Linked DNA regions of Homo sapiens: regions 1, 2, 3, 4 and 5 are each linked to region 6. The links are contacts of gene promoters, found by promoter capture Hi-C in blood cells and fetal thymus (Javierre and others, 2016). All regions are on one chromosome and are shown on one strand. The core of a region is centred on a gene start or on the middle of the fragment in contact, and the rest is flanking DNA. Distances in the headings are between cores, read along the strand shown.

What was found. Contacts are between HindIII fragments. The CHiCAGO score rates a contact against its expected background, and 5 or more counts as called.
Region 1: a fragment that was not itself captured here is called in contact with the fragment with the promoter of FANK1 in region 6 in 1 of 17 cell types (naive CD8 T cells); the score reaches 8.6 in naive CD8 T cells.
Region 2: a fragment that was not itself captured here is called in contact with the fragment with the promoter of FANK1 in region 6 in 4 of 17 cell types (naive CD8 T cells, total CD4 T cells, non-activated CD4 T cells and 1 more); the score reaches 10.8 in naive CD8 T cells.
Region 3: a fragment that was not itself captured here is called in contact with the fragment with the promoter of FANK1 in region 6 in 1 of 17 cell types (monocytes); the score reaches 5.9 in monocytes.
Region 4: a contact is called between a fragment that was not itself captured here and the fragment with the promoter of FANK1 in region 6, in 2 of 17 cell types (naive CD8 T cells and activated CD4 T cells). The highest score is 9.0, in naive CD8 T cells.
Region 5: a contact is called between a fragment that was not itself captured here and the fragment with the promoter of FANK1 in region 6, in 1 of 17 cell types (naive CD8 T cells). The highest score is 6.0, in naive CD8 T cells.

What each region holds. Positions count from the first base shown.
Region 1 is chr10:128,040,627-128,045,116 of GRCh38, forward strand. PTPRE (protein tyrosine phosphatase receptor type E) reads left to right here. Exons shown (of 21, transcript NM_006504.6): 3 at 249-364. The coding sequence starts at 256. Among named protein-coding and RNA genes, the nearest start is that of AS-PTPRE, 20 kb to the right of the region's middle. RefSeq lists an enhancer at 4,333-4,490. The HindIII fragment of the contact is 2,625 bases long and covers 557-3,181 here.
Region 2 is chr10:128,057,543-128,062,111 of GRCh38, forward strand. PTPRE (protein tyrosine phosphatase receptor type E) reads left to right here. Exons shown (of 21, transcript NM_006504.6): 8 at 3,397-3,473; 9 at 4,137-4,173. AS-PTPRE (lncRNA antisense to PTPRE protein-coding gene) reads right to left here. Exons shown (of 3, transcript NR_136150.1): 2 at 3,145-3,302; 3 at 190-827. Among named protein-coding and RNA genes, the nearest start is that of AS-PTPRE, 2.6 kb to the right of the region's middle. RefSeq lists an enhancer at 4,426-4,569. The HindIII fragment of the contact is 2,124 bases long and covers 2,053-4,176 here.
Region 3 is chr10:123,142,895-123,147,312 of GRCh38, forward strand. No RefSeq gene overlaps it. Among named protein-coding and RNA genes, the nearest start is that of HMX2, 3.0 kb to the right of the region's middle. RefSeq lists an enhancer at 1-833. The HindIII fragment of the contact is 2,307 bases long and covers 1,646-3,952 here.
Region 4 is chr10:128,133,880-128,138,703 of GRCh38, forward strand. No RefSeq gene overlaps it. Among named protein-coding and RNA genes, the nearest start is that of MKI67, 9.9 kb to the left of the region's middle. The HindIII fragment of the contact is 242 bases long and covers 1,586-1,827 here.
Region 5 is chr10:128,115,346-128,119,910 of GRCh38, forward strand. MKI67 (marker of proliferation Ki-67) reads right to left here. Exons shown (of 15, transcript NM_002417.5): 5 at 3,908-3,974; 6 at 1,146-1,191; 7 at 1-662. Among named protein-coding and RNA genes, the nearest start is that of MKI67, 8.8 kb to the right of the region's middle. The HindIII fragment of the contact is 1,876 bases long and covers 344-2,219 here.
Region 6 is chr10:125,893,986-125,898,876 of GRCh38, forward strand. It overlaps FANK1 (fibronectin type III and ankyrin repeat domains 1), which reads left to right and starts at 2,579. Exons shown (of 11, transcript NM_145235.5): 1 at 2,579-2,670. The coding sequence starts at 2,658. It also overlaps a transcript of DHX32 not described here. RefSeq lists silencers at 2,084-2,163, 2,384-2,463, 2,624-2,763, 2,855-3,149. The HindIII fragment of the contact is 2,086 bases long and covers 1,586-3,671 here.

The sequences.
Region 1 (4,490 bases), core at 619-3,118, 2.1 Mb after region 6:
ACCATCAACCAAGCAGGTCCTTTGAGTCCTGGTTCCCTCCTTTGAGTGAATGTCCACAGTCAGTGACTGTATCCCCCTGGTGTTGAGAAGCCTCAGTGAGATGATCCGTGAAAGTGACAGGCAAAGTTCTTGGCTCAGAGAAAGCCCTGAAATGAAGTTGGCTCTTCTCCTCATCATCACTGCCTGGCACCGGAGGGTCCCACAGCTGCTGCTGGATGACCTCTGAGCCTGTCCCTGCCTCTCTGCAGGTCCACCATGGAGCCCTTGTGTCCACTCCTGCTGGTGGGTTTTAGCTTGCCGCTCGCCAGGGCTCTCAGGGGCAACGAGACCACTGCCGACAGCAACGAGACAACCACGACCTCAGGTAAGGACCCCTTTCCCTGGCTGCCTCCCCTACTACCTCCTCCTAAGCTCCTGGGACCATTCAGAGGGTGATAAAGGGGCTTAGGGTAAGAGAAGAATGGTGTGGCTGAATTTCTTAGTGTGCTTTTAATAGTTTGTGCCTCTAAAAACAGGCAGGCTAAATAAGCTAGTTTAGCATTTGGTTGTTCAGCAAAGCTTAGTGTTCTGGAGGTGACCCATCTACAACCCCAGCTGAGAGTCAGGGTCAGCCTTGGCTGGAGGCAGGAGTGCAAAAGGGTTAAAAATCCCCCAAAATCCCCTTGTGCAGAAAACCAACCATGAACATACATGGATGAGGCGATGTGACAGTTAATGATAGGAACTAAAGAATTATTCTTAGGCCGGGTGCGGTGGCTCATACCTGTAATCCCAGCACTTTGGGAGGCCGAGGTGGGCAGATCACGAGGTCAAGAGATTGAGACCATCTTGGCCAACACGGTGAAACCCTGTCTCTACTAAAAGTACAAAAATTAGCTGGGCGTGGTGGTGGGCGCCTGTAGTCCCAGCCACTCGGGAGGCTGAGGCAGGAGAATCACTTCAACCTGGGAGGCGGAGGTTGCAGTGAGCTGAGATTGTGCCACTGCACTCTTGCCTGGCAACAGACAGAGACTACGTCTCAAAAAAAAAAAAAAAAAAAAAAAAAGAATTATTCTTAATATTTTAGGTCAGATATTGGCGTCATGGTTAGTTTTATTTTTAAAAAGAAGAGTCCTTGCCTTTTGACATGCCTGCTGAAGGGTTCACGAGTGAACTGTGATGTCTGGGCTTTATGCAGAAAAGAGCAAGAGGGAAGTGGGGGTGGGGGCTTGTGAACAAAGTCACATCAAGAGCCCCACATGATTCCCTAACCCTGGACAAATGTCCTGCAAACCCTGGACAAATGTCCTGCAAATGTACCACTGGCCCCAGGAGGAGGAAAGAGTAAAGATTTCTGGTGACAGAACCTCTAGCAAGGAGAGCAGTTCTGAGCGCCCACCTGTCTTTTTCCTCTTCATGTTGAAACCTCAGAGAAATCCAAAACCCCAAAAATGAGAGACCAGAAGCTGCCCGCAAATATTAACTTGCCTCTTTGCAAGCCAGCCTTTCAGGGGCAGGTCACTGGTGGTTCAAAGAGTTATTTCAACCCACAATCCCGACTTTTCTTCCCAACGCTAATCGACTGGCCACGTAGAAACATCTGACAAACTGCCCGGATGTACCCTCACATCCAGGAGCCACAATGGCAGAACATCCGTTTGCGCAACAGTGGGGAAGAATCTGCCCGAGCTCTGCAGACAGTCCCTCGGGTGGCACTGTGGGCACCGGCAGGATGACGTCCACTCCACATCTGAGGCTTTTCAGTTTATTTGAAAACAAAATTATTGGGCTCACATATTGCCATAGACATGGGGTGTTACTTGCAGGAGGAGGACACTGTCATGTGACCTCAGCACCCAGAGCAGAACTAAATGTGAAACTCACACCTTGGTCCAGCCTCTGCCAGGGCCTCTGCGTGCTTAGCAAGGCTGCTGGTCCACGAGCAAGAGGGAAATGGGCCTCGGGTTATAAGGCGCAGACGGGCTCGTTTGACCTAGAATTGTGGAGGGGAACCTGACCCTGTGAAGTGCCCTTTAAATCTTCATCTGACCCCTGGAAGAAGTATGAAGGACCATTTCAGATGATAACACGTTTCCACAGTGTGCCAAAATAATAGGAAGCTGTTTCATTTGTTCATCGAACAAAATATATTCAGTACTCATGCAGACAAATTCTTTTACAGAAGGAATTGAAGGTAAATGTTTACAAATTATGTAATAAAATGTTATCTATAAAAAATAATACGTAAAAGAACACAGTCGAAAAATGAGTAGAGAATATGACCAGGTAGAATACAAATATCTAATTATGTTTCACTAATCATGAAAAGATGCTCAACTCTCTAGAAATTAGAGAAATGCAAGTTAAAATGACATTATCATTTTACCTATCAGATGGACCAAAATGCAAAGGGTTGGCAAAATATCCCAGAGAAGAGAAACTGGCTCCATCGCACATTATGGGCAGCATTCCGCAACCTTTGTGGCACCAGGGACTGGTTTAATGGAAGACAGTTTTTCCGTGGAATTGGGGTGGGGGGTGGTTTGGGGATGATTCAAGTGCATTATATTTATTTTGTACTTTATTTCTATTATGATTACATTGTAACATATAATGAAATAATTATACAACTCACCATCATGTAGAATCAGTGGGAGCCCTGAGCTTGTGTTCCTGCAACTAGACGGCCCCTCTGGGGGTGATGGGAGACAGTGACAGATCACCAGGCATCAGGTTCTCTTAAGGAGCACGCAACCTAGATCCCTGGCATGCGCAGTTCACAATAGGGCTCACGGTCCTGTAAGAATCTAATGCCGCTGCTGATCTGACGGGGGGCGGCGCTCAGGCGATAATGCCTGCTCACCTGCCACTCACCTCCTGCTGTGTGGCCCAGTTCCTAACAGGCCACAGACTGATATCCATCTGTGTCCTGGGGGAGTTAGAGACCTCCGCTGTGGATGAATGTAGAAGTTGGACACTTGGGGCTGCCATCTTGGCAATTGTGTTAAAATGTAACAGGCGTACAGGCTAACACAGAAGCTGTCCTACAGAAACACTTGCGAGACACAAAGATATATATGTGTGTGTGTGTGTGTTGCAGAATTGTAGGTAATAGCAGAAAAGTTGGAAACAACTTAAATGTCCATCCTATTTTGGTCTATCCAAAAAGTGGAATCCAAGCAGCTATTAAACAGAATGAGGAAGCTTATCTGGGCTGACATGGAAACTCTCCAAGACAGACAGCCGTACCAGAAAAGCAAGCTGGAGAACTGCCCCGTGGTGCATTTCATCTGTTTCTTTCATATTTAATGTGGCTATATGGGGACGTGTCTTAAAATTGGTAGCACTTCACAATTATAATCAGTATCATTTTTTTTCTTTCTTAGTGGTTCTTAAAATAACGATACTTTTTACAGTCCGTGAAGCTGTAGATGAAACGAGAGGAGTAGTATGGTCTATTTATTTCCCAAACCTGCATATTTATGAACGTAAATTTATAGAAGAAAATGTCAGGAAAGATACGCTTTGAAATCTTAATTATGTTTAACTCTGGCAAAGAGAACAGGTTCCTGAACATTGAAAATTTTAGGCCGGAGTGAGTTGGGACCTTAAACCATTGTCTGCACACCTGTCCTTGAGTGAGCCACATCTTTTCAGTATGGACTTGCTCCGCCTCTAGGGCCCCTGGGGAAGGAGGGCTTGGAATGAAGGTGGGAGAGGAAAAGAGGGATGGAGATAAGATAGGGGACACAGTGAGAGCAGCTGTGCCCTGGGGCAGAACTGAGGTAGTCCCTGGAAGACCCCGGCTCTTGGCCAGAGCTCAGGATCAGCTTCCTGAGCAGAGGGTGCTGGGTGGCTACACTCCAGCCAAGGTTGCCATTCTCTTTGTCTCCTCCAAAGTCACATTCAAGCCTAAGGTTTTCAACTTTCAGGATCAGATTCTATGTAAGCAAACACACACACACACAAGTTGCAAGTGTATGTATGTATAAAATTGGTGTGAACATACACACACTTCACTTTGGGCAATAGCTAGACAGTCATACAGGAAGAAGGCTGCTTCAGGATGACCACCCTGGGGACTGGCCACCCTGACCTCTGTCCCACCCCGTCAGAGCCACAATAACATGAAATGAAAATAAACTGTGACAGGAATTTCTTCTCAGATGACTCCCTGACTCCTGGCTGGACCACATTGGTGCCCAGAGGACATATTTTTGTTTTCTTCCTGGTCCACACCATTTAAAAAAAATGTTTTTAAATTGAATTTCTTACCAATATTTAAAAATCAGAAAATGTTTACATAAAAATATGAATTTCTTCTTTAGGAAAGTGGGAAGAACTAGGCACTGTGGGCACCCCTTGTGCTTGGCCCCAGTGGGCTGGAACTCAGAAGTAGCCATCCCTGCAGGCAGGACATGGGGAGTCCCAACTCTCGCCCCCACCTGGCCTCCCCACACCACCCAGGGATGTTCTTACCTGCCCCTTGAAGGCCATTGGGTTTCTGATCC
Region 2 (4,569 bases), core at 1,865-4,364, 2.2 Mb after region 6:
TGTGGTCTGTCCAAACTGTGCACTTTTTAGAAATAATTCTGTCCCATTTTACATGCGTGGGATTGATATGTGGTTTTCACAAAACCCACTGTGAACCCATGATCCAATGAAAACTGGGAGAAATTCATCAAATAGTCTTTCATTCAACACATATGTGTAGGGGTGGCCAAGGCAACACCAGGAAGATGGGTCAGGAGGTCATGTGGTGGCCACACAGCTGAGCCTTGACAGTAGCTCAGACATGGCTAGATGCTGCACACTTTGGAGAGGATTTGTTGCCAATGGGTAGAAGATATCACAGAAAGAGGGGAGGCAACTTACATGGCTTGAGCAGCTCAAAGGAAAGGAAGGCCATGGCAGGAGGAGGTCTGAGATCTTTGGAATAATGTGTGTCAAATTTGGGATATTTAGAAATTAGTTTCACTGCTTAATTTATTACCTTAATTGAGTGGTTTTAAGTTGTGCCTTGATTTGCCAACCATATGTGTTAAGAAACCGCTCAGTGCTAAGCACATTCCTGAATTCCTCATTTCTCTCAATCACTAAACCTTCATCCCTTAAAGGTAACATCACATTGTTAATTAAGACTATTTAGCTGGGACCTCTGTGGAAGCAGAATCATGGCCAAGTGTGGGCATTACCTACACCCAGTCCCCTTCTCAAAGTGTGATGGCCCAGGGCAGAGCAGTGGCCTCACCTGGGAGTCCCCCACCTGGAAGAGGCCGGGCCCACCCACTGCAAGTCTTCTCTGAGCCACGTTCTCAAGTCTTCTCTGAGCCGCGTTCTCCAGGTTGTGCTGCTGGAGTCAGTTGGCATTTCCTCCAAGCCTGAAAGTGTAGTCAGATTCAGAATGGGCTTTTCTAGATTCCCCTGTAAGATCTTTCCCCTGCTCCTGGCAGGAGCACCACACCATGGGAACCCCAGGGCCCACGCAGCTGCCCGGGACTGGGGGACCAGGACGTGGCACTTCTCACATGGGTGGAAAGATGGGTTTACAGAATGGTGGCATGGAGACGCTGTGGCCTGGCAAGGATCAATGGGGTGGCATCTGGCATTAGCCATCAGGAAGACTTAAGGCTGAAGGGACATTGGGCAGGGAGCTCTCAGGGCTGCTCCACCCGCCCCCAGGGTGACAGCCCATAGTATCACTTAGGGTGGGACTGAGAGTCACCTGGGGGAGAGGAGAGAAGGGGCCCAACTTCCCCAGCCCCTAGTATCACTTAGGGTGGGACTGAGAGTCACCTGGGGGAGAGGAGAGAAGGGACCCAACTTCCCCAGCCCCTGGCACCTTCCCTGCCTTTCCCAGTCTTTTACCAGAGTCATAAGATGGTCCTTGGCTCTGGGCAGGCATGTGGCCCTGGGGAGCTCTGGGGTCAGAGGTCAAGGTGCTTTGCATGTCAGGCAGGCTTGACTTTTGCCTGTAGAAAGACTATAGAAAGATGGCAAGCTAGGCCTCTTTTCTGGAAAAGTGCCAACAGCTGATAATTTTAGGAAATAATGTTTTGAATGTGAAGTGTGACTTTTTAGAATAAAAAGACAGGAAGCTCTTAGAAACTGCAAGATTCTAAATCTAAGCAGAAGGCTATATTTTACCCTGTGCTTTTCTATAGCTGTCCTCAAAGCGTAAACCATTCCAAATTATTTTCAACTAGTGTTATATGTGTTCAGCAGAGCTATTTCTGCCTGGGCATTGCCAGTCCCTGAGCAGGAGGGTCTCACAGTGAGGTCTGCAGGACTGTAAGTTTGGGGTCTGACTCCCTGGCCACCCTGTGTGGGCTGTGACTGTCTCTCAGAGCTATACCCGCCCTTTCTCTGCTGGCAGCCCGACAGAGCTGGCTCAACCATCGGAGGTCGCAGGCCACCAGCCCGTGGCCCACCTGGCAGCCTTCCAGGTGAAGGTGAGACAAACAAGGCATGACCTGGGGGCTGCCCGGCTCCCCATCACAAACGCCACAAACACCACAAACACAACCCACCCTGATCAGAGACTAAGCAGAGAAAGCAGGGAGAGGACCTAGAGTTACTCAGTAATGACTCAGGAAGGAGACCCTAAGCTTCTACCACATGCCAGACTCTGTGCCCAGTGCAGCATAAACGTCCTCAGAACCAGCCTGGTCCCAGCCTGGCCGAGCCGGACGTTCCTGGGAAAGGTTACAGGAGGAGCAGGGCCAGGCCCACAGCACTTTTAGAAGCCCATGAAAATGTCTTCATTTCTCTTCAAATCACAAACAAAACGTGCAAAACCCATTCTGGAGTGCATCTTTTCACTGGCGACCAACCCAGTCCTAAGATAACCTTCTTAATAGTTCTATGGAGGAAGCTGCAAAGGCAGAAGTGACTACAACCCACAAAAGTCATGATGGAGCCCTGACGTGTGTGTACACACACACTACATGCACACACACACACACAACACACACACTACACACCCACCGCACATAACGCACACACATACACACTCCACACACACACCACACACTCCACACAAACATATCACACACATACCACACACATACACACCACACACATACCACACACTACACACACACACACACACACACTACACATACACACCAAACCCACATGCACACATTCACACAGCATACACACTACACACATGCACACCACACATACACCACACACACTACACACATGCACCATACACACCACACACACACCACACATTACACACATACACAACCACACACACCACACACACAATACACACACACCACACTCACTACACACACACCCCACACACAGAGCACTCCACGGTCAGCCTTCTACCCCGGAAAACTGCTTGTGCAACAGGCTGGATCTACCAGACGCTCCTCACTGTGCTCGCCTTCCAGCTCTGGGGCAGACTCCGGTGGTGGGACTGAGGGTCAGAGTCCCCAATCCTAGACCCCCACATCCACTTGTCCTCATGGGGCTGGTGCTCATTTCCCTGGGAAGCCTGGGAGAGTGGACCCAGTTCTCCTGTCCTGGGGCTCTTTTAAGTGCACCCACACTTGGCAACACTGGGGCTGGGCCCAGTGCAGGGTTCATAAAATACAGCCCTTGCACTGCCAGGGGCCTGGCACATTCTGCTATTCTTGCTATGTAATGACCCAGCAGCCCCCATCCTGGATGCTGAAATCCTACCCTTGTCGTCATGCCACAGCTGAGACAGTCAGTGTTCACCAAAGCAGGTGCATTCTCTCTCAGGACACTAGTGTTCTCCATGGGAACGCTGAGGAAGAACATCTCTGCCATCCCTGGTGTCGCTGTGAAGCTGCTTTTGCCCTTCCCAGGAGCTGACACTGCAGATGAAGAGACAGCACTGTGATTTCTGGAAGAGACAGCACTGTGATTCCTGGTCCTAATATCTTGGCTTTGTTTGGGTTTTTTTTCCAGATGACCATTCTAGGGTGATTCTGAGCCAACTGGATGGAATTCCCTGTTCAGACTACATCAATGCTTCCTACATAGATGTAAGTGGGCAGAGGTTTCTTGTTCCCCTGGCCCAGCTGGGGCATGAGCAGTAAGCACTTTCTTGTCTGGTGCCCGGAGTGTAAATTGTCACAACCTTTCTGGGCAGTTTGGCCACAAGCACAAAGGGTACGGAACTGCCCGTGCTTTACACACTGGCATCAGCATCTGGGAATTTGAATTCAAGAGACAGAGATGATCACAGAGGATGTTCACTACAGCATTATGTATATTCCTGACCAAATAGAACAGGGAGCATGGGTAGTTAAACAGATTGTGGTAAAACCATGTGCAGTGGACTATTAGAACTTGATTTGTATTAATCTTTAAAAGATCATTTAATATCAATTATAAAATTCCCATTAAAAATACAACATAAAATAAATTGTACATGTTCACCCAATTAGAGGACAGAAATGTCTGCATGTCTGCTTGTGGGTGAGTCTGGGAAAGGTTTGGCAGAAAAACAGACTAGAGAGGGGACGTATGAAGTAGGATTTGTTATTTCTGGAATTGCTGGTGAGTTTTCTTTCCTTCTTAACCTTTTCCTGTGTTTTGCAAATTTTCCATGGTGAATATGTACTGCTTTCCTAACAGCAACACCAACAAATCCTTTCAGCAAAGATAATTCTGAAAAAATATAAATCTGATGTTATTTTTTCTAGGGTTACAAAGAGAAGAATAAATTCATAGCAGCTCAAGGTAAGCTTTTTATTAATTTCTCAACGTATTTTTGGTAACGTGAATAGCTCTTATTTCCTTCTCTGTATGCCAACAAGACCAAGGACTTATACTGGATTTGTGTGTGTGTGTTTACACCTAACAGACACGTTAGATATCCATTCACACAACGGATATGTGTAGTCAGAGAAACACACACTTATTCCCACACCTATATGGTGTGAACACAGGGCACGCAATGGCCCCGGCTGCCATTCCAGCTTGTTAATACTTGCGTCAGATAACCTTGAATTTCTCTCAGCTGGCTGAGCCCTACATGGCTCCCCAAGTTTGGGCGAGGGGTTAGTGGGGTGAATAGCTTTTCAGATCAAGGCCATAACTAAGAATATACTTCAGCTGTGAAAACGTGCCCTTCAC
Region 3 (4,418 bases), core at 1,549-4,048, 2.8 Mb before region 6:
AGACTCCGCAAAGAGGCTAAGAAGACCTGTCTACCCGGGTGCGCGCGATGGGGTCAGGGTGTAAGAACCAGGAGCCTCATAGAAACCTCTGCTTGGGGTCCAAAGCCCAGCCGGGCACTCCCAGAGGACAACATCCGCCCCCGCATGTACACGTGGCCCCGCAGGACCCAGCCGCAGGGCTCCCACGCTCGGCTCCCCGCCCTCTCGCTGTCCCCCACCCCCTAACCCGGGCTTTGAGGTGTGAGCGATCCCTTGCCTCTGGGCCTAGGACTCTGGAAGTGTGCACGGCCGTTGTGCAGGGTGGATGGTGTTGACCTTTTGACCTGAAAACAGTTGGGGGCTGGGGAGCGGAGGAAGGATGGCGGAAGAGAGGAAAGAGCCACGAGAACAACTAGGCGGGATGTACTTTTGAGCCCTGCCGGGTGTCTCCGATCGGAGTCTGGGGTTGAGATTTGGGCTGCACTTGTCCCCGGTGTGTCTCTCCGGCGGAGTACCCTGAAGGTGCACGAGGTGGGGAGCATAGGCTGAGGTGGGTAATCGGGTCCTGGATAGAAACACAACCCTCGTCCTCACTGGGGCCCATGTATGCGCCTGGGATTCCTCCCCACCCTTCCATTTCCAGGACCCCTAAGGGTATCACTCCAGCGACGGGGCGGTTCTGGAGACCCGAGGGAAGGGATAGCTGGAGACTGCAGCGCGCCTTCTCCGAGAGTCCCCTGGAGGTGCGCATGAGTTGTACTAGCGCAGATCTCTTCCTTGGCTGCTGCTCCTGGCGATGCATCTCCGGGGGAAACTTCCCAAAGTCTGAGTTGCCGGGGTTCCAAAAGGATCCCTTTGGGTTTAGGCCTGGGAGAGGTATAGAGCCAGCGAGAGAGCGCGTTGCGCCTATCACTGAGGCAGGAGCGGTGAGGTGGAGTCACCTGCTGTGCCTCACCCAAGCGCTAATGTCTTAAAGAAATATAAAGAATCCCCTTCTTTCGTGAGCTCCTTCACCGCCCTCGCCCCCGTTGGTGATGGAGTGCACGCATCAGATTTTCATCAAAGTTCTATTAAGTGAAACATAGGTTGCAGGGCACCCTTTGATTGAAACAGTTTAAATTTTAATTGTGTTTTTAATTTGACATATAGTTGCAGAAAGGAATGACACTGCGTCGCCAAGGGGCGGTCGATTTTCTTAATTTCTCCCAGAGGAATTGATGAGTCTATCAGGCCACTAGATTGGAAACCCATTAAAGCTCTCTGGTTAGGCTGTTAATTGGAACTTGATGGATGTGGGGGGGTGGGGAGGGGGGTGGAGAGTGTCGGGACTCGGCTATGCTGATCCAATCTTCATGACTTTCTGTTTTCCAATAAATTACACAATTCATTTTCCAGCAGCAGATTACATAAATTGTACACCTCTGGGGCTCTCTTTTTCAAATAGGGAGCCCTTTTCCCCAAAAGCCTATTGTGAGATGTCATTTGCACCAAAGAACGAACAGCAGAGGCCCTTGAACGAAAATCGAAACATAATCAACGTTTATACTTAGAAAATTTATTGAGATCATTTTCTCTGGTATTTCCTTATTTTAAAGTTTGGACGCGCCATATATCATAATCCACTCGCGTGGGGGCGGGGGGGCAGACTGTGTTTAATATTTATCGAAGCTTGATTCCAAGATCAAACTTGTTTATGACTTCATCTGTCATTTCGGAGGGAGCCTTCTTCTATTACCCGGCTCAGCCAGCCTATTTCCCAACTGCCGCAGAGCAGAGAGGATCAATTTTTATTAGGATCCTCGGCAAGTTTGCTCTGGGCCGCTTTAATATTGAGCAGTGGCATAATCTCGGGACCTAAACTTTAAGCGTTCTTTCAGGCTCAGAAAGTTTATCATTCCTTGGAACCTGGTTATGCCTAATTCCTAGGAGAGGGAGACAGGGGGTCGATCCCAAAGATGCAGAGGGGCCATCCTCCAAGGTGTGGGTATTAAACTGAGTAGGATTGGGCGGAGCTATCCCAAGGCTAGGGAGGTGGGCGGGGTGTGGGATAGTACTGAGTTGAAGGATTGCCACTCGTTAGGGGAGAGACATGAGGTGTCTGTGGGTGGTGGTTCCAGGAACTGAGTGTTCCTGGGAGTGAGTTTTGTAGCTACACTGGGCCCAGGAGAGGGCGTCTGGGCCTCCGTGCTCCCGGTGAAGATCCCCATATGCTAGAAAGGGGCGGCAAGGAAGGTTGTTTCTTGTCCCTCCCGTCCTTGCGGTGTGACGGCTATAGGTGCTGGAGGGGCGGGAGGTCCCTCGGGCTATCAATCGAGGGGAGCTCAGGGGAACTGCAGTCAGTCAGGCTGCAGAGCTGGGTCTCCACCACAGCCTTCCTTGCCCCAGCCCCGTGCCCACCACCATCTCTTCCCTGGTAAAGTGCACGCACTAGTAGGAGCTCAGTGAACGTTTGCTGAATGAATGTGTGAGTGTGCGCAGGCGTTTATGCAAGTGCCTTCATGCGAATTAATGCGTCCTTTGCCGGGTGTGGCAGCAGAGGAAGTGCCTCGGTGAAGATCAGACCCTCGAAGCGATTAGAGGGACGGGACAGAGGAAATACAAGGCAAGATGGATCTTTTTGACTTCCCAAACTATCCCTAGGGGAAGGAGAGATAGGGACGCAAGGCTTCATAACTTCCTTGTTTAGAGTCCGCAAGCCAGGCTTCTTGCAAGGGTCGACTCCCCAGTCTCTCACTGTTTCAGGGCCTGGGAGTTGCTTTTCCGAGGCCCACTTCGAGGTCCCCTGATCTGACAGAGATCACTCCTTGGGCTCTTGCCCCACCCATATACCCGCCCCCGCCATCCCGAGTCAGCAGGATCCTCACAGTCTTCCCCGCAGCCATCCTCCAAGCTCAATGCCTGTGTCTGCTCCTCTCTCCCTCCTCCCAAATGTGATGTATTGGCAGTGGAACAACCTTGAGCACGAGTCTTGCTTTGTCTGCCTGGGCTAGTCTCTTGTTTTCTTGAGCCTCAGTTTCCCGGCCTGTACATTGAGTGAATAGATCTGTGTCACTTGTTTGCCATCAGGATTAAAGCGAAGAATGCTGGGGAGCTTCCAGCATGTTCCCCGCACGACATATTTACAGTTCAGGAAGGTTCGACCAACTTTCCCTGCCTGCCCCCAGCTTTCTTCCCCAGCGGGGTGGCTGGCACTGCTCCCCGAGTTAGCTGGCCAGTTCCCCTCGGGGCTGCCTTGACCCTGGCTCCGGAGGCAGCGCCTAGCTCAGGATGTCTGCGAGAAGCGGATGGTTAGTGAGAATCCGACGATTCTTTCGCTGAACCTCCCGCGTACCCCCCAACAGCGCGGGAGCACGCGGGACCCGCTGCGACGTGGCCCAGGAGCCTGCGCCGCCGCGGCGCAGAGGAGAACGCACAAATTGTATTTCAGCGCCAGGTCCTTCCGGGTTAATGAGCTGACACCATGATTAAAGCTGACCATTTGTAATGTGTCTCGACCCTGCCGCTGAGCCCTGAAGAGGTTAATGCGGTGACGGAGGCCGGCACCTGCCCCTCGCTGGCCTCCCGGGCCGCTGCGCGCACCCCCTGGCCCCCGCCCCCTCGCCTGCCCCTGCCCCGGCTGCGCGGCCGACTCCTAATCAATTAGCCCATTAACGAGCCCCTCGAGGAGTTAAGTAGGGAAGAGTTCTGCCACGGGCAGGGCCGCAGTCGGTAACTCACCGCGGCTAATGATATTATAAGCGCTTTACTTAATAACCCGGGCGCGGTGCAGGCGAGGAAGGAACTGCACAGTCATGCAGTGTCTGGACATTTGTGGGGACTGATTCCAGAGTCTCCACTCACCCTTGGCTGCACTTGGGGGGCACCCTAAAGACAGGGCTTCTGGAATCTCTTGGCCAAGAGGTCTAGAGGTCACAGCTTGAGGGGACGGGGTTGCCTGAGCACTTCGGGCCTTGCCTCACTTCAGTTTCCAGGAAGCTTGTGCAGACGACTGTGGCCCCAAACCGCTTTGCTTGGCTGGGCTAATTCTAGCTCGGGTAACAGCTGATCTAGGAATTAAAGGGGCGAGAGCCAGGGCACAGAAGGGGGCTATGAGAACACAGAGGGAATCACTATTTACTGAGCACCACGGTGTGCCAGGCTCGGTGCTGGGTAGTTTGACCTCACAACAGCCTCTGCGAGGGAGGCACTGCTTCCTCCAATTTTAGGAATAAAGAAACCGAGCCTCAGAATTTCCAAATGTCTTCCCCCAAGATCACCCAGCCGAGAATTGAGTCGAGTCTGCTCAATTCTAAAACCGAGTCCTGTCACCAGTTCCTTATCTTCTTCCTGGGAGTAAGGCGTCTATTTCTGCAGCAGTTCGGAAACCTTCAAAATTTACAAAACAAAAACACAGATTCGCTTAAAACACGGGTGGGCCATGGGCTACCCGGCCAGGTTTA
Region 4 (4,824 bases), core at 457-2,956, 2.2 Mb after region 6:
GTCAATTCCCACTTTTACTGAGATGGAGATTCAAGTGGCAACATTTCCTCGACTATTAATGGTTTAAGAAAAGCATCTTACAGTGTGTTGTTTCCAGAAACAGCTATGCCCCCTGGAAGGAAAGTACGTCTTAACAACACAAAATAGTGGTCAAAACCAATTACTTAACACTGGGACAATCTATTATTATAAAGTCAGTAAGACAGGCAGGTATAATAGCAACAGCTTTCCTCACCATAAGGCAGCTGCCCGGTTTCTACATATCTTCTGCTTTCCAGAGTAAAGATGTGCATTTGACATTTCCATACCTATTATATGCAGGACACGCGATCCCGAGAAACTGTCAGAGCGTTTTTCTTGTACCCCAGACCAGCCTTCTGTTCCTTGGATATTAAAACCCCAGGAAGTTGCCTGGCTTATTTATACCACTATCCCTCTCACAGCAGACAGACAGATGTAGCACACAGCAACACAGTCACAAATAGTAAAAATAACAAATAGTAAAAATAACAAAGGGTTATGATTTGTGAGACAAAGGCTATGTTTTCAAATGAACGATATTCATTGTAAAAATTTTGTTGAAAACAAAGTACTCGTACCTTCTAAATAGAAATAATAAATAAATAAAACTAATATAGATTTGAATCTAATTGACATATATAGATTGAAGACTGCAACCAACAGTTGTAGAACACACATTCTTTTCAAACACATAATACACAGATTAGTAAACATTGCAGCCATATCTGATCACAAAGCAAATGCCAACACATTTCAACAACTAGAAGCTATTGAAATGTCCATCCAGAACGATAAAATTGTGTATAATTATGTGTATTATTTATTTTTCTTCCTTTCTTTTTTTTCAGAGACAAGGTCTTGCTCTGTTGCCAAGGTTGGAGTGCATTGGCACAATCATAGACCACTGCAACCTCAAACTCCCGGGCTCAAGTGATCCTCCCACCTCAGCCTCTGAGTGGCTGGGACCACAAATACACACCATCATGACTGGCTAATTTTTAAATTTTTTGAAGAGATGGAGTCTCACTGTGTTGCCCAGGCTGGTCTTGAGCCCTGGGCCTCAAGTGATCCTCCTATCCTTGGCCTTCCAAAGTGTTGGGATGACAGGCATATGCCACTGCACCAGGCAGGTATATTATTTCAATCAAATAGTTAATGTAAACAAATGACAACTACAATCAATATTTTATGATTCTCATAAGGACTAGAGACATCGGACATAATTACATACTTTATTATTTAATTTTTGTGAAGTTTAGTAATGTCAGACAAAATATAGTGTTCAAAGATGCATGTTTAAAAATAAAACTCAGGCTGGGCACAGTGGCTCACATCTGTAATCCCAGCAGTTTGGGAGGCTGAGGCAGGAGGATCACTTGAGGTCAGGAGTTTGAGACCAGCCTGGCCAACATGGTGAAACCCCGTCTCTACTAAAAATACAAAAATTAGCCAGCTGTGGTGGCGGGCATCTGTAGTCCCAGCTACTGGGAAGGCTGATGTTCTGTGCAGGAAATGCATGAGGGGAGAAGAAATGGCACACACACAATACTTTAAAGGGTAAACAAGCTTTACCCCATGTAAATGGCAATGCAGATATAATAAGGAAATGACATAATAAGCAAATGATATAATAAGAAAATCAATATAATAAGGATATTGTTACAATAAGCAAATTGCAATGGGAAGAGAAGGGAAAAAGATACTTACACTCACCAGACTATGGAGGATTCACCACCAAACTGGGAAGCAACATCTTGGGATCCAGAGTCGACCACTTGTCCATGCAGACAAGGAGGGGTCTCATGAAGCTTCTGCGTGGTCTGAGACCCTAGCTCTTTTTGTAACGAGTTGTTTGGCATGAGGTCCAGTTACGAGGGCCCTTCGTGACGGGGCTCAAGGAACACAAAAAGGTCAACTTGTTTTTGCAATTATCTATTGTTTTTCAATAACTAACGTATAGGAATAGATTGAAATAGGGATTTCTTTGAAACAGTGCTGGATGAACGCCTTAAGGGGCTCACACAACCTGTTCCGAGACTTGGTGACCATTGTTTCTGTCCACAACCAAATGAGTTCACATTTAATATTTAACTATTCCTCCACAAGGCTGAGGCAGGAGAACTGCTTGAACCCAGGAGGAAGAAGTTTCAGTGAGCCAAGATCGTGCCACTGCACTCCAGCCTGGGTGACAGAGTGAGACTCAAATAATAATAATAATAATTTAAAAATATTTAAGGTCTGGCATGGTGGCTCACGCCTGTAATCCCAACACTTTGGGAGGCCAAGGTGGGTGTATCACGAGGTTAGGAGATCGAGACCATCCTGGCTAACATGGTGAAAACCCGTCTCTACTAAAAATACAAAAATTAGCCGGGCATGGTGGCGTGCGCCTGTAGTCCCAGCTACTCGGGAGGCTGAGGCAGGAGAACGGCGTGAATCCGGGAGGCGGAGCTTGCAGTGAGCGGAGATTGCACCACTGTACTCCAGCCTGGGTGACAGAGCGAGACTCCATCTCAAAAAATAAATAAATAAATTTAAAAATAAAAATAAAACTCAAAGTATTTTTATAATGTTATAAAAGCCACAGTGACAGACTCTGTGATGAGAGAAAGAAGTCGCGGTTAGAAGACAGGATGGAAGAAGCCTCTGGAAGAAATGTTCTATTTCATGACTTGGTTTAGTTACGTGAGTGTTTGCTTCCTGATAATTGAAACTATAAGACTCATGCAGAGTTTTACATTCAGCCTTCTCCACAAAGTAAGTTCTTTTAGGACCAGATCACCTCTTTGGCCTGGTTATCTGTACTCAAATCCTTGAATTTGATATTTAAGTCCAATTTCTCATTTTTTGAATGGATCCAAATTATACCACAGTGGCATAAAATTTTTTGAGCTGAAAACATTTTAGAATCAAGAAATGCAGACAGAAGCTTTGTCTGAATTATGCCCTATCCTCACCCCATTATCAGACTACGAAGTTTACAGATAAGCCCCTATCTTCAGCTATTGGCTGCTTTCTTTGTGCTCTTCTGAGAATGGATATTAACAAACAAAATGAATACACTTTGTCTTTTCTCTTGTTAATCTCTTGTTAATCTGGTTTTTGTCATTTATTTTATTTTTTGAGTCAGGGTCTCACTCTGTCACCCAGAGTGGAGTGCAGTGGTGAGATTTCAGCTCACTGCAACCTTAACCTTCTGGGCCCAAGCTCAGCATCCTAAGTAACTGGGACTATAGGTGCACGCCATCATGCTGGGCTAATTTTTGCTTTTTTTTTTTTTTTTTTTTCCAGAGACAGGGATTCACCATATGGCCCAGGCTGGTCTCCATCTTCCAGGCTCAAGCAATCCACCCACCTCCTTCTCCCAAAGTGCTAGGATTACAGGTGTGAGCCACAGTGCTAGGCCAGTTTTTTTTTTTTTTTTTTTTTTTTTGAGACGGAGTCTCGCTGTCGCCCAGGCTGGAGTGCAGTGGCGCGATCTCGGCTCACTGCAGGCTCCGCCCCCTGGGGTTCACGCCATTCTCCTGCCTCAGCCTCCCGAGTAGCTGGGACTACAGGCGCCCGCCACCGCGCCCGGCTAATTTTTTGTATTTTTAGTAGAGATGGGGTTTCACCATTTTAGCCGGGATGGTCTCGATCTCCTGACCTCGTGATCCGCCCGCCTCGGCCTCCCAAAGTGCTGGGATTACAGGCGTGAGCCACCGCGCCCGGCCAGGCCAGTTTTTTGTCATTTTAATTTACAAGACTCCAAACACTGATTCTAAGAGGCTAGAGGAAAAATTATTTCTTTTTGACAAATTCTAGGTCTATATGCTATTCCATTTGGAAAATGTATTGAGAATTACAATCTGAAATCTGTTAACATTCATCAACATTAAAGATGGATCACTGTTGAACTGTTTCAGTGGTTTATGATAAATCACAATATGACATTAATTGTTTGCAAAATTAGCTTTTACCTACCTGAAAGATCGATCAACAGTAGTTATTATATTTCCATGTTTTAGCTGTACAAGCTCATTAATATCAAACCCAATTAACTATGTTGGATTTGTGGAGTGGAAATGAAATAATATGGCCTACAAGTAGAAAGAAGAGAACAACTGGTAACTAATCAATAGGTAGAAAGTGAAAGGAAAAGCTTTAAAAATGGGCTTTCAAAAGCCCTGCTCTTTCATCTGCACTTTGCAACGTTGATGTATCACTACAGGAAGCTGGCTGCAGATGTCACATTCCACTCCCCTTATTCCAAAAGAATGGAGATTTTTGTCTGGTTATTGCACCTTCTAAACCAAATACATGAATTTTTCTTTTTCTTTCTTTTTTTTTTTTTTTCAAGATGGAGTTTCACTCTTATTGCCCAGGCTGGAGTGCAATGGCCTGATCTTGGCTCACCGCAACTTCTGCCTCCCGGGTTCAAGCGATTCTCCTGCCTCGGCCTCCCGAGTAGCTGGGATTACAGGCATGTGCCACCATGCCTAGCTAATTTTGTATTTTTTTAGTAGAGACAGGGTTTCTCCACATTGGTCAGGCTGGTTTTGAACTCCCGACCTCAGGTGATCTGCCCACCTCGGCCTCCCAAAGTGCTGGGATTACAGGGGTGAGCCACTGCGCCTACCCTTGCATGAATTTTTCAAACTAAAAAAAAAAAAATTCACTAGATTTTTTTTTTGTTTTTTGAGACGGAGTTTCACTCACGTCGCCCAGCCTGGAATGCAATGGCGCAATCTTGGCTTACTACAACCTCTGCCCCCTTGGTTCAAGTGATTCTCCTGCCTCAGCCTCCTGAGTAGCTGGAATTAC
Region 5 (4,565 bases), core at 32-2,531, 2.2 Mb after region 6:
TTGCTGTGAATATTGTACAGGGGTCTTCATTTTAGCCGGCTCATAGAGAGGAAAGCTGGCGCCCACAGCCTTGCTGGGAGTCTGAACAGACTCCACGTCTCTTCCCTTCCCCTTGTTCTGGTCAAGCTCTTGTTCAGGTGAAGCAGGCTCTGCCACAGCGTGGCCGCTCCCACCAGATTTTGGTCTTGACTTACGCGAGACCAACAGTTGGGTCTCCCCCTGTAAACCATCAGCACTTTCTTTCTCTGTTGCGTAATCAGTTTGTAATCCAGATTTTCTACAATACTGTAGGACATTTTCTTTTTGTGATTTTACATCCAACTCTTTCTTCACTGACTCATAAAGCTTCCAAAAGGGAGATTCATTTTTTTTGCTATTGTCAAGACATTGTGTAGTGGGAACAGACTTCAATTCTCCATAACGGCTCACTAATTTAACGCTGGAAATTTCTTTAAAATCCCCAGAAATGGGATCAGCTGCATTTCTGCCATTACGTCCAGCATGTTCTGAGGAATGAACATTAGTTGTTCCCTGAGCAACACTGTCTTTTGAGTCATCTGCGGTACTGTCTTCTTTGACATTCTTGATATGTACCTGAGGATTTCCTGAAACTTTTCCTTCAGTGATTTTTGAATAGGCCTTGGAATCTTGAGCTTTCTCATCTTGGCAATGAATTATGAAATAAGAAACAGAAGTTCAGCATTTTCTCAATGATTAACATTTGTGGAATTCAATATTTTAATTGTTTCAGGTTGTCTTATAAGCTAGCTTTTACTTGGCCTACAAATTATTTAATGCCTAAAACTTGCAAGTCTTATGATACTAGTATTATGATACAAATATATAAATCATATCAGCTCCAATAACCAGTATGAAATAGCACATGCTATCTAACTACTGAGAACTGAGTTGACAGCTGAACAGGCAATTTTCTCATATCTAGAGTCTCTCCTAAGCATAGCATACCATCAGTCACCAAGGGAAAGTTAGGCATCTGTCTGTCGTTGACATGTTAAATGACACCTCCTCCATTTCTGACAGGCTAGACATTTAGCACTTGCATTCTTGTTGCCCCTTCTTTGCCAATATGCTTCGCAAAGACCTGATCTTTCAGGATTCTGGAACAAAACCCAACCACTACTCACCAGGGTCAGAAGAGAAGCTAGATCTTGAGACACGACGTGCTGGCTCCTGTAAGTTGGGAAAATAAGAACAGTTATTTGCAGGTCTTTCTAAATGATGACAGTCACAACAGTGAAAATATTATTTATTGTTTTCTGGCTGGGCATGATGGCTCATGCCTGTAATCCCAGCACTTTGGGAGGCCAAGGTGGGCGGATCACTTGAGGTCAGGAGTTTGAGAACAGCCTGGCCAACATGATGTAACCTCATCTCTACTGCAAATACAAACATTAGCTGGATGTGGTGGCAGGTGCCTGTAGTCCCAGCTACTCAGGTGGCCGAGGCAGGAGAATTGCTGGAACCCGGGAGGCAGAGGTTGCAGTGAGCAGAGATTGCACCACTGCACTCTAGCCTGGGCAATAAAGCGAGACTCTGTCTCAAAAAATAAAAATAAAAACAATAAAAAATTGTTTTCTTTACCAAACCACTCGTATATGACTTTTAAAGACTGTTTGAGAAATGAGCTCAAGTCAGTTGGGAGCTAGTGGTCAGGATAAAAGTACTTATTAGCTGACTCATTAAAAAATAGTGAGTGATTAATAGGAAACAAATTCGAGGCTTAAAATTACTAAAATCAAACCTCGGTGTGTTTTTATAACTTCCTTTAAAGATATTTCCCAACATCCTATTGCGGAAGAACCAAAGTCAATATTAAACATCACCTATACTGAAGATCTGTAACCCCCCACGAGCTCAGAACTACTGACTGCGTCATCAGTTTTCTCATAAATGGGCCATAGGACCTGTCGATGAACTGAGGCTCCACTTGGCATGTGCGCCCTCTTGGCTGGTGGATACTTAGGGTGGATCTGAGAGCCTAGATTCACCCTAGGTAAATTCATGGTACAGGCACACATGGTATATTCACAGATTCTGCAACCTCACAGCCTGGGAGCAGGCGCAGCGCCCCCACCTGGCTCCCCAGAGACAGCGCCCTAACTTTCCTTCATATGGAATTATTTCCGGAAGGGTGGAAGAACTAAAGAATAACATATATATATAACTTTTATAAAAGTCTGATGCCCCAAAGGAAGAAAAGCTTATCATCTGGATTATTAAGAAAATATCTAAAAAATATTAACAAAGGCAAAGAATCTAACTTCCTTAATCAATTTTAGGTTTCTTGATACGTAACACCTTGCTTCTAAAACTATCTATGTGAGGGATGGTTTTTTATTTCCAATCTGAAGTGGAACAAGAATCTTATGACTAAACAATATAAATGAACCACTAATAAAATTATGAATATGTAAAGTATATAATCTCACTTTTGTTGTACGATTACATTCAATAGCCACAAAATTGCTGTCGAATTGCTGTCATATTTACTACATACTCCATTTCAGTACTCACTATATCACAGACCAGTAACAGAACAAACAGTTCCTAGACTGCTGAGTGGCACATATCTAACCCACAGTTCAACTGGCTTTTTGGTTTATTTACTCCCATAGACTAGCAAGTTGCCTGGTGGCTACAGTGTGGGATGCCTCAGAAACTGGCTTCCAGCACGGGAACTGATGACCATCAGATTCAACATTAAGGCTGCTCCTCTAGGGAAGAAGGCAGTACTTAAATGGCAGAAATGGACTGGGCATGGTGGCTCAAGCCTGTAATCCCAGCACTTTGGGAGGCCCAGGTGGGTGGATCACGAGGTTAGGAGTTCAAGACCAGCCTGGTCAATATGGTGAAACCCTGTCTCTACTAAAAATACAAAAATTAGCCAGGCATGGTGGTGTGCACCTGTAGTCCCAGCTACTCGGGAGGCTGAGGCAGGAGAATTGCTTGAACCCAGGAGGCGGAGGTTGCAGTGAGCCAAGATCGCACCACTGCACTCCAGCCTGGGTGACGGAGTGAGACTCCGTCTCAGAAAAAAAAAAAAAAAAAAAGGCAGAAATGTTGAAATTCAAGAGTACCTACTGCTAATTTCAGGTGCACCTAAGATAACTCTCCTAAGCCAAGATATTCCAAGGAGCTCATCTGAAACTAGCTTTAGGAGCACTCTAAAATGTAGGAAAAATATGAATTCTCAGGGCTCATCCTAAGCCTAAATCCCACTAAATTTCCAAGCACATGCCGACAACTGTGTTTTAATAAGCTGTACAACTAAAATACCTCTTCCACACTGATATACTCAAACTATCTAAATTGCGAAGCACGTGTCGACAATTATGTTTTCATAAGCTGTACAATTGGAATACCTGTTCCACACTGATACACTCAAACTATAGGATTCTCTCACAAGACAAAGCACAGGATCCCTTTTCCTGTTTCATGGGTCGTCTATCTATCAAAATAGAGAAGCATCTTTGGCACTCATGATTTTCATAATGTGATTATTTCAGACACATAAAGACGGATGAGTACAATGACTGGGCGACAAAATGAGCCACCAGATAATGCAATTCCCAAATGTTAGCTCTACGTGTTGGGGTTATCCTAATCATGGGTTTGCAAAAAGCTCGCAACATGCTCTAATAGACTTTTTGGCTAAAAGTGTAAGACCAACTTAGTGCTCTGATTTTGAACAATAAAGAGGAAATATCATTTTAGATTATTTTAATACGTCTAAGTTCAACTCGTTTTTATACTTTAGTTACATTTTCCTACTATAACAGTAACCACCCTCTTTGTAACTGATTTCAAGTAAGAAATCATTAAAGCATACATAAATGATTTCATATCATCGAAACGAATCAGCCCAAACTTGGATATTTTCTATCACCTGTTCACGTATTTTTCTTGGAAATTCAGTTGACTTCCTTCCATTCTGAAGACTTTCATTTTCATACCTGCAGTTTATAGAACGACAAAGATCCTGATTAAAAATTTATACCCTGGGGCGGAAGTCTCCATATCCACTTAATGTCCAAGGATCAACGAACAAACTTTGGGTTTAGTTCAAGACATCACCTTATACAAAGAAATAAATTTAGAGTTAGAAAAGTGCTTTTACACTAAAAACTAGGATTAGTTGCATCGAGTTTGTTTTGAAATACCACTGTCAGAGGCTGGGGACCCAGATTAACTTCTGATCACTGACGAACAGCCCAGGTATGATTTGACAATATTACCAAGCACCTTCTATGACATAAGCTAATGCACATGAGAGCAAAGTCAAGTTTCTTCTAGTTTAAGTCCATGGAAATCATCGGATGGCTTGGAAGGCCAGCCAGGAAGCCTGTAGGTAACTGAATCTTTCTCACGTTGTGAAGTTACATACTTCAGGGTAAATAAAAAGCTACACTTACACTACAGGGTAACTACAAACCTATATTTTAGAACACTATGATCACTTCAGTTTCCCACACATTCAGTCTGTATCTGAACAAGACAGGTACATCTTAAGAAGATCACCTTTAGCAAGATACATAATTGTCCTG
Region 6 (4,891 bases), core at 1,329-3,828:
TACTTTGTTATTCCCGATCCATAATGCTTCAGTTTGCTACATTTAGTTAAACATCAGCAAAGTAAACAATAATGTAACTATTCTATCTAGTAATGAGCTTGGAGACTTAAAAAAATATATATAGAACTTTATTCCTTTTCATTTGACCACTAATAACATACTGAACATGCCCGTGAAAAGAAATAAAACACAATGGTAGAAAACTCCAAAAAGGTAGAGTGTCTTTACCATTCATCCCCCACCCCTATCTCATTAGCAACTTTCTGATCTCGGGTGTTTTCTCCAATAGTAAAGTGTATCCCTATATCCAAAACAATTTCTCTAAAGCCCTTCTCACTCATTCAACAAACATTTAACAGGTACATTGCACAAGGTGATAGAGGAAGAGAAACTGAATATTGTCCCTGCCTCGGACATTTCAGTGCCTTTACGCCTGACTTCCACTCCTAACCAGTCTTCTTTCACAGGTACCCTGTCCCCTAAAATCAAATGTTGCTTTTCACAGTTGCCTTTACTTGTCACCTAAAGTATTTCAATTCAAAATTTCCTCAAAGTCAACTTAACAGCTGCTGATAAAATAATCATTCTATATGATTACAAAGTGTTTCACCAATACATATCCCCATTTTTTCCAAACTTAAAACTTCTTCAGTCCTTATTACTTTAGCATAGAGACCTGCACTGTTGTTTCTTCTTTTTAAAAAAATACTAATGCTAATCCTTTACTGTTTGAGCAGACTTAATCCTACCTTTTCTTTTGTCAATAAATGCCAGGTGTTTTTTAAATCACTATCTTGTCACTTTTGATTATGATATACTGATCACTCTATTTGTATCTTGAATGAAAAGACCGCTTTGTGATTTTGCTAATGATATGTAAACTAGAACTTGAGAACCACTGGATACAGGAGTACTGCTGATCTTTATACTTTCTGTCTAAAAATGAAGCCCCTGTCTCTAAATTTCAGGAACAGGGAGTTAAGGTTCCATGAAGTGTTTACTTTCCACCCTTAATTTATTACCTTAATACTTCAGCTTAAGAATTATGTGTTCTGTATATATCACGCTGCTTGTCAATATCCACACATAAACCTTCTTGTTTTGACAATTAATCTGAAAAAGTCCCCATATAGTCTGAGAGGGGGAAAACCTAATTTGGAAGAATATAATAAATGTCAGTTTCCATCACAGAATATATGCTTCTCAAGTTCAATTAACCTCTCAATGATTCCCTAAGAGGAAAGTAATTCTCCTTAGTGTCCTTGTCATCCATGGAGTGGAAATCTTTCTACTGGCAAGATTAGTAATCACTTCCATGACCCCCAAAACGGCTCTTCCTTCCATTTCCCTCAAGTACTGTCTGGAGCAGCGGTTGGAATTAATAGAGGGGCCATAATCTCCAGACCTGAATACCAAATCAATCCTGCAGCCCCCCACACCCTTAATGCCCCTGCACTTTCTTGCTTATCCTTTTTCTCTCGTCTCCATTTTTCTTTCCTCCTTCTGGTGTTCCGGAACCTATGATACTCTCCTGGTTGTTTGAATTTTTACAACCTACCAGATAATAATCTCTTGTGATCCTCAAAGCTTCCTTAAAGCAAACCCTGAATCACTGTGTTTTAAAACCAGTATGAAAGACTATTGTGTGGGATAATGTTACATTGTTTCACAGCCCTACAAAGTTTGGCCACAAAACGTGTGGGCAGATTCCGTAACTCAACCGGAAACGCGAAGGACTGAAACAAATCAACACACAAAAAACGAAGCCAGCGAGAAAGATCCAACCCGGGCCCCCTGCCTGAAATGGGACACGGGGATGACGGGGCAAAGCCGGGCAAAACCGTGCTCCTGGCTCTCGCGATTCAGGAGACGCGCCAGGCTCACTGGGGACGACAGCGACGACGGCGGCGGCTCGCATTGCTCCACGCTTCCCGTCAGGGGGGCTCGAGGGACCGCCCCAGGCCCGGCCCATGCCCGGGCTCGGAGGGAGCCCCTGGTGCGAGGGCTGCCCGCAGGGCTCCGTCCTCCCGCTGAGGCGCGGCTCCCGGAGCAGGAGGCGCGGAGGCCGCCCTCGGCGTTTCGGAGTCGGGGCGGGGAACGTCCACGGCCAACTGCGGGCAGGGGACCCCCAGGCGGCTACAACAGGTGCGCCGGGGCCGCCCACCCGGCTCGGGGCGCGCCCGCCCCTGCGCCGACCCCCGACCCCTTCCGCCGCCGGGGCCCCGCTGTTACCTGCAGCGGCGGCTCCCGATTCCCGGGAGGGCGGCCCAGGGCCGGCGCCTTACCCGCGGGCAGGCCCACTCGCCCGACGGACGCCGCGGGTCGGCGACAGCGGGGACCGCGGGTCGGCGACGTCGGGGCACAGGTCCTGCGGGGCCGCGGGGGCCGCCAGGGAGGGCGCGACCGCCTGACCGGGCTTCAGGAGCAGTGTCCTCAGCCGGTGACCTGGCCGCTACCCTCGCTCAGTGTCCCCGGCGACGCGCGGGTCCTCACGCGCTCCCTCACTTCCTGCGGCTTTTGGTCCCTCCCGCTCGCCGTCCCTTTAGTTCTGCCCACTTCGCCTCCGGGTTGTCAGGGCAACCGTAGCGACGCCGGCCCTGGCTGAGAGGCGTTAGGAGTCCGGGGGTTCGCCCGCGGAGGCCGGGGAGCAGCCGACCATGGAGCCCCAGAGTAAGGGAGGCCCGGGCTGGAGCTGGGACCGGGGCGGGCGACCGGGCTGGGGCTCCCCGGGAACGAGTGTGGGCGCCCCGCGCGCGACTCCGCAGGTTTCAACGCTCGGACACGGAAATACGGTTTGCGTCTCCTCGCGCTTTTCTCTCCTGGAGAGGGGAGAAGGGGGCTACATCCTGCCAAGTCTGTATGGTTGGGCCGCCGGCGCCCTAGAGTCCGCGCTGGGGGCTGGGAGCGACTGGAGAGCCCCGAGGTATGGGTGGGGAAGGGCGCAGCGACCCCAGCGTGCGTCTTCCTGAAACTTCGCCCGGACGGTTCCATTTACTCCTCCTCCTACTCATGATTTTAGTTTGGTAGTTTGGTTCATTAATTGTAAGTAGCCCATTTTTCTTCTAAAATGTCAGCAATTAAACACGTCCGAGGCTGGGTCTTGTATTTATTAGAGACCCCGTCTTACTCCCCGCCCCCCGCCCCACACCCCTAGTCTGCGACTTGAAGGAGAGAGAGAGAAAAGAAGAGCTTTGTCCAAGTGTATTTGATTCATTCTTAGGGGTTCTACAAGTTAGGACACTCAAAAAATGTTTGTAATCTCTTTTTCTGTTTTCCCATGTTGCTTTCGATGTATGGCAAAAGTTGTGCAGTTTTGAGTTATCAGATCTAAACACGAGCTCTAACTTACTATTTTTGTTGTTGTTTTTACCTTTCCAGGGACTTTGTTTCAAGGCCTTTCTTTCTCTGCCCCGCCTAAGCTGTCTTATTGTTCCTTTTGTTCTCAAAATAAGGGGAGTGTTTTGTATGGAGACTTAAAATTTATCTAAAACCTTTATAGAAGGATGCAGTTTGACTCTCAAACCAAGTCGTCTTATCTTGTACAATTTCAGAAATGAAGAACTCAGACCAAATCTATTCTCTGGGGAAAATGTTGGCATTTTTAAAGGTCATTCGTTTTCCACCAAGAAAGTTTCAAATACTTTTCCTTTTAACTCATTTGCTGAGGAGAAAGCTTGCAAGTTGTGACTTATAGTTGCTTGATAGATTTTGTACAGTATTTGTCATTTGCATTTACAGCTCTTTGGATTCTACATTTTTTTAACCTAGTAAAAGAAATTTAGCATACAAGAACGCTAAAATTTTTGTTTTATGTCAAACTGATGGCAGGCTGTGTATATTCCCGCCTTAGAGAAGTGAGTTGAAATATACCTTTTAAAAACAGCAACTTGGCCTGGCCCGGTGGCTCACGCCTGTAATCCCAGCACTTTGGGAGGCTGAGGCAGGCGGATCACGAGGTCAGGAGATTGAGACCATCTTGGCCAGCATAGTGAAACCCATCTCTACTAAAATACAAAAAAAAAAAAAAAAAAAAAAAAAAAAAAAAAAAAGCCAGGTGTGGTGGCGCGTGCCTGGAGTCCTAGCTATTTGGGACGCTGAGGCCGAGGCAGGGGAATCGCTTGAACCCGGGAGGCGGAGGTTGCAGTGAGGCCAGATTGCACCGCTGCACTCCAGCCTGGTGACAGAGCGAGACTCCATCTCGAAAAAACAAAAAAAAGAACTTTATTTCTTCAGATTTATGTTACTGTTTTCATGTGTAAACTATAATTTCAAGTTCTTCAGTGCTGTCTTTATCCATTCATTCATTTATAGTGCCTGTTATGTTGCAGCTCTGTTCTAGGGATTGAGGATTGAACAACGGATCGGACAGTGTTAGTTTTGGTCATCCCAGGAAAACTAAGCAGAGGCTTGCTCAAGAACTCCTGAGGTCTTGGTGGGGTTCGGAGATTGGGGGAAGAGGAGATGGACAAAGGCTCCCAAGAGGAAGTAGTACTGGGTCTGCAGAATGACCCAGCAAAGAATGAGGGCAAGGGATTCCAGGCAGTGGGAATTACTTGTACATAGGCCCTGAGACCTGAGAGCAGCGTGGGTTTGAGGCTCACGGTAGGAAGATTAGTAAAGCTGTAGCTAAGGAGAGGAGGAGGAAAAAACAGGGTTGGAAGGAGGGAGGAGAAATGAGATAAGGCTGGAAAATTCAACCGGAGCCTGATCAGAAAGGTTCTGTAACCATGTGAGAAATGTATTACTTATGTGAACTATACATTTATATCTCATGTCATTGGATTTTGAGGTGGAAAATATTTAATTTATACCTGAGGAATGACTGTAAATTTCTTTCTTTCCACATATTCTTAAATTATTTCATCAATTTAATTTTAAATAATTCAATCAC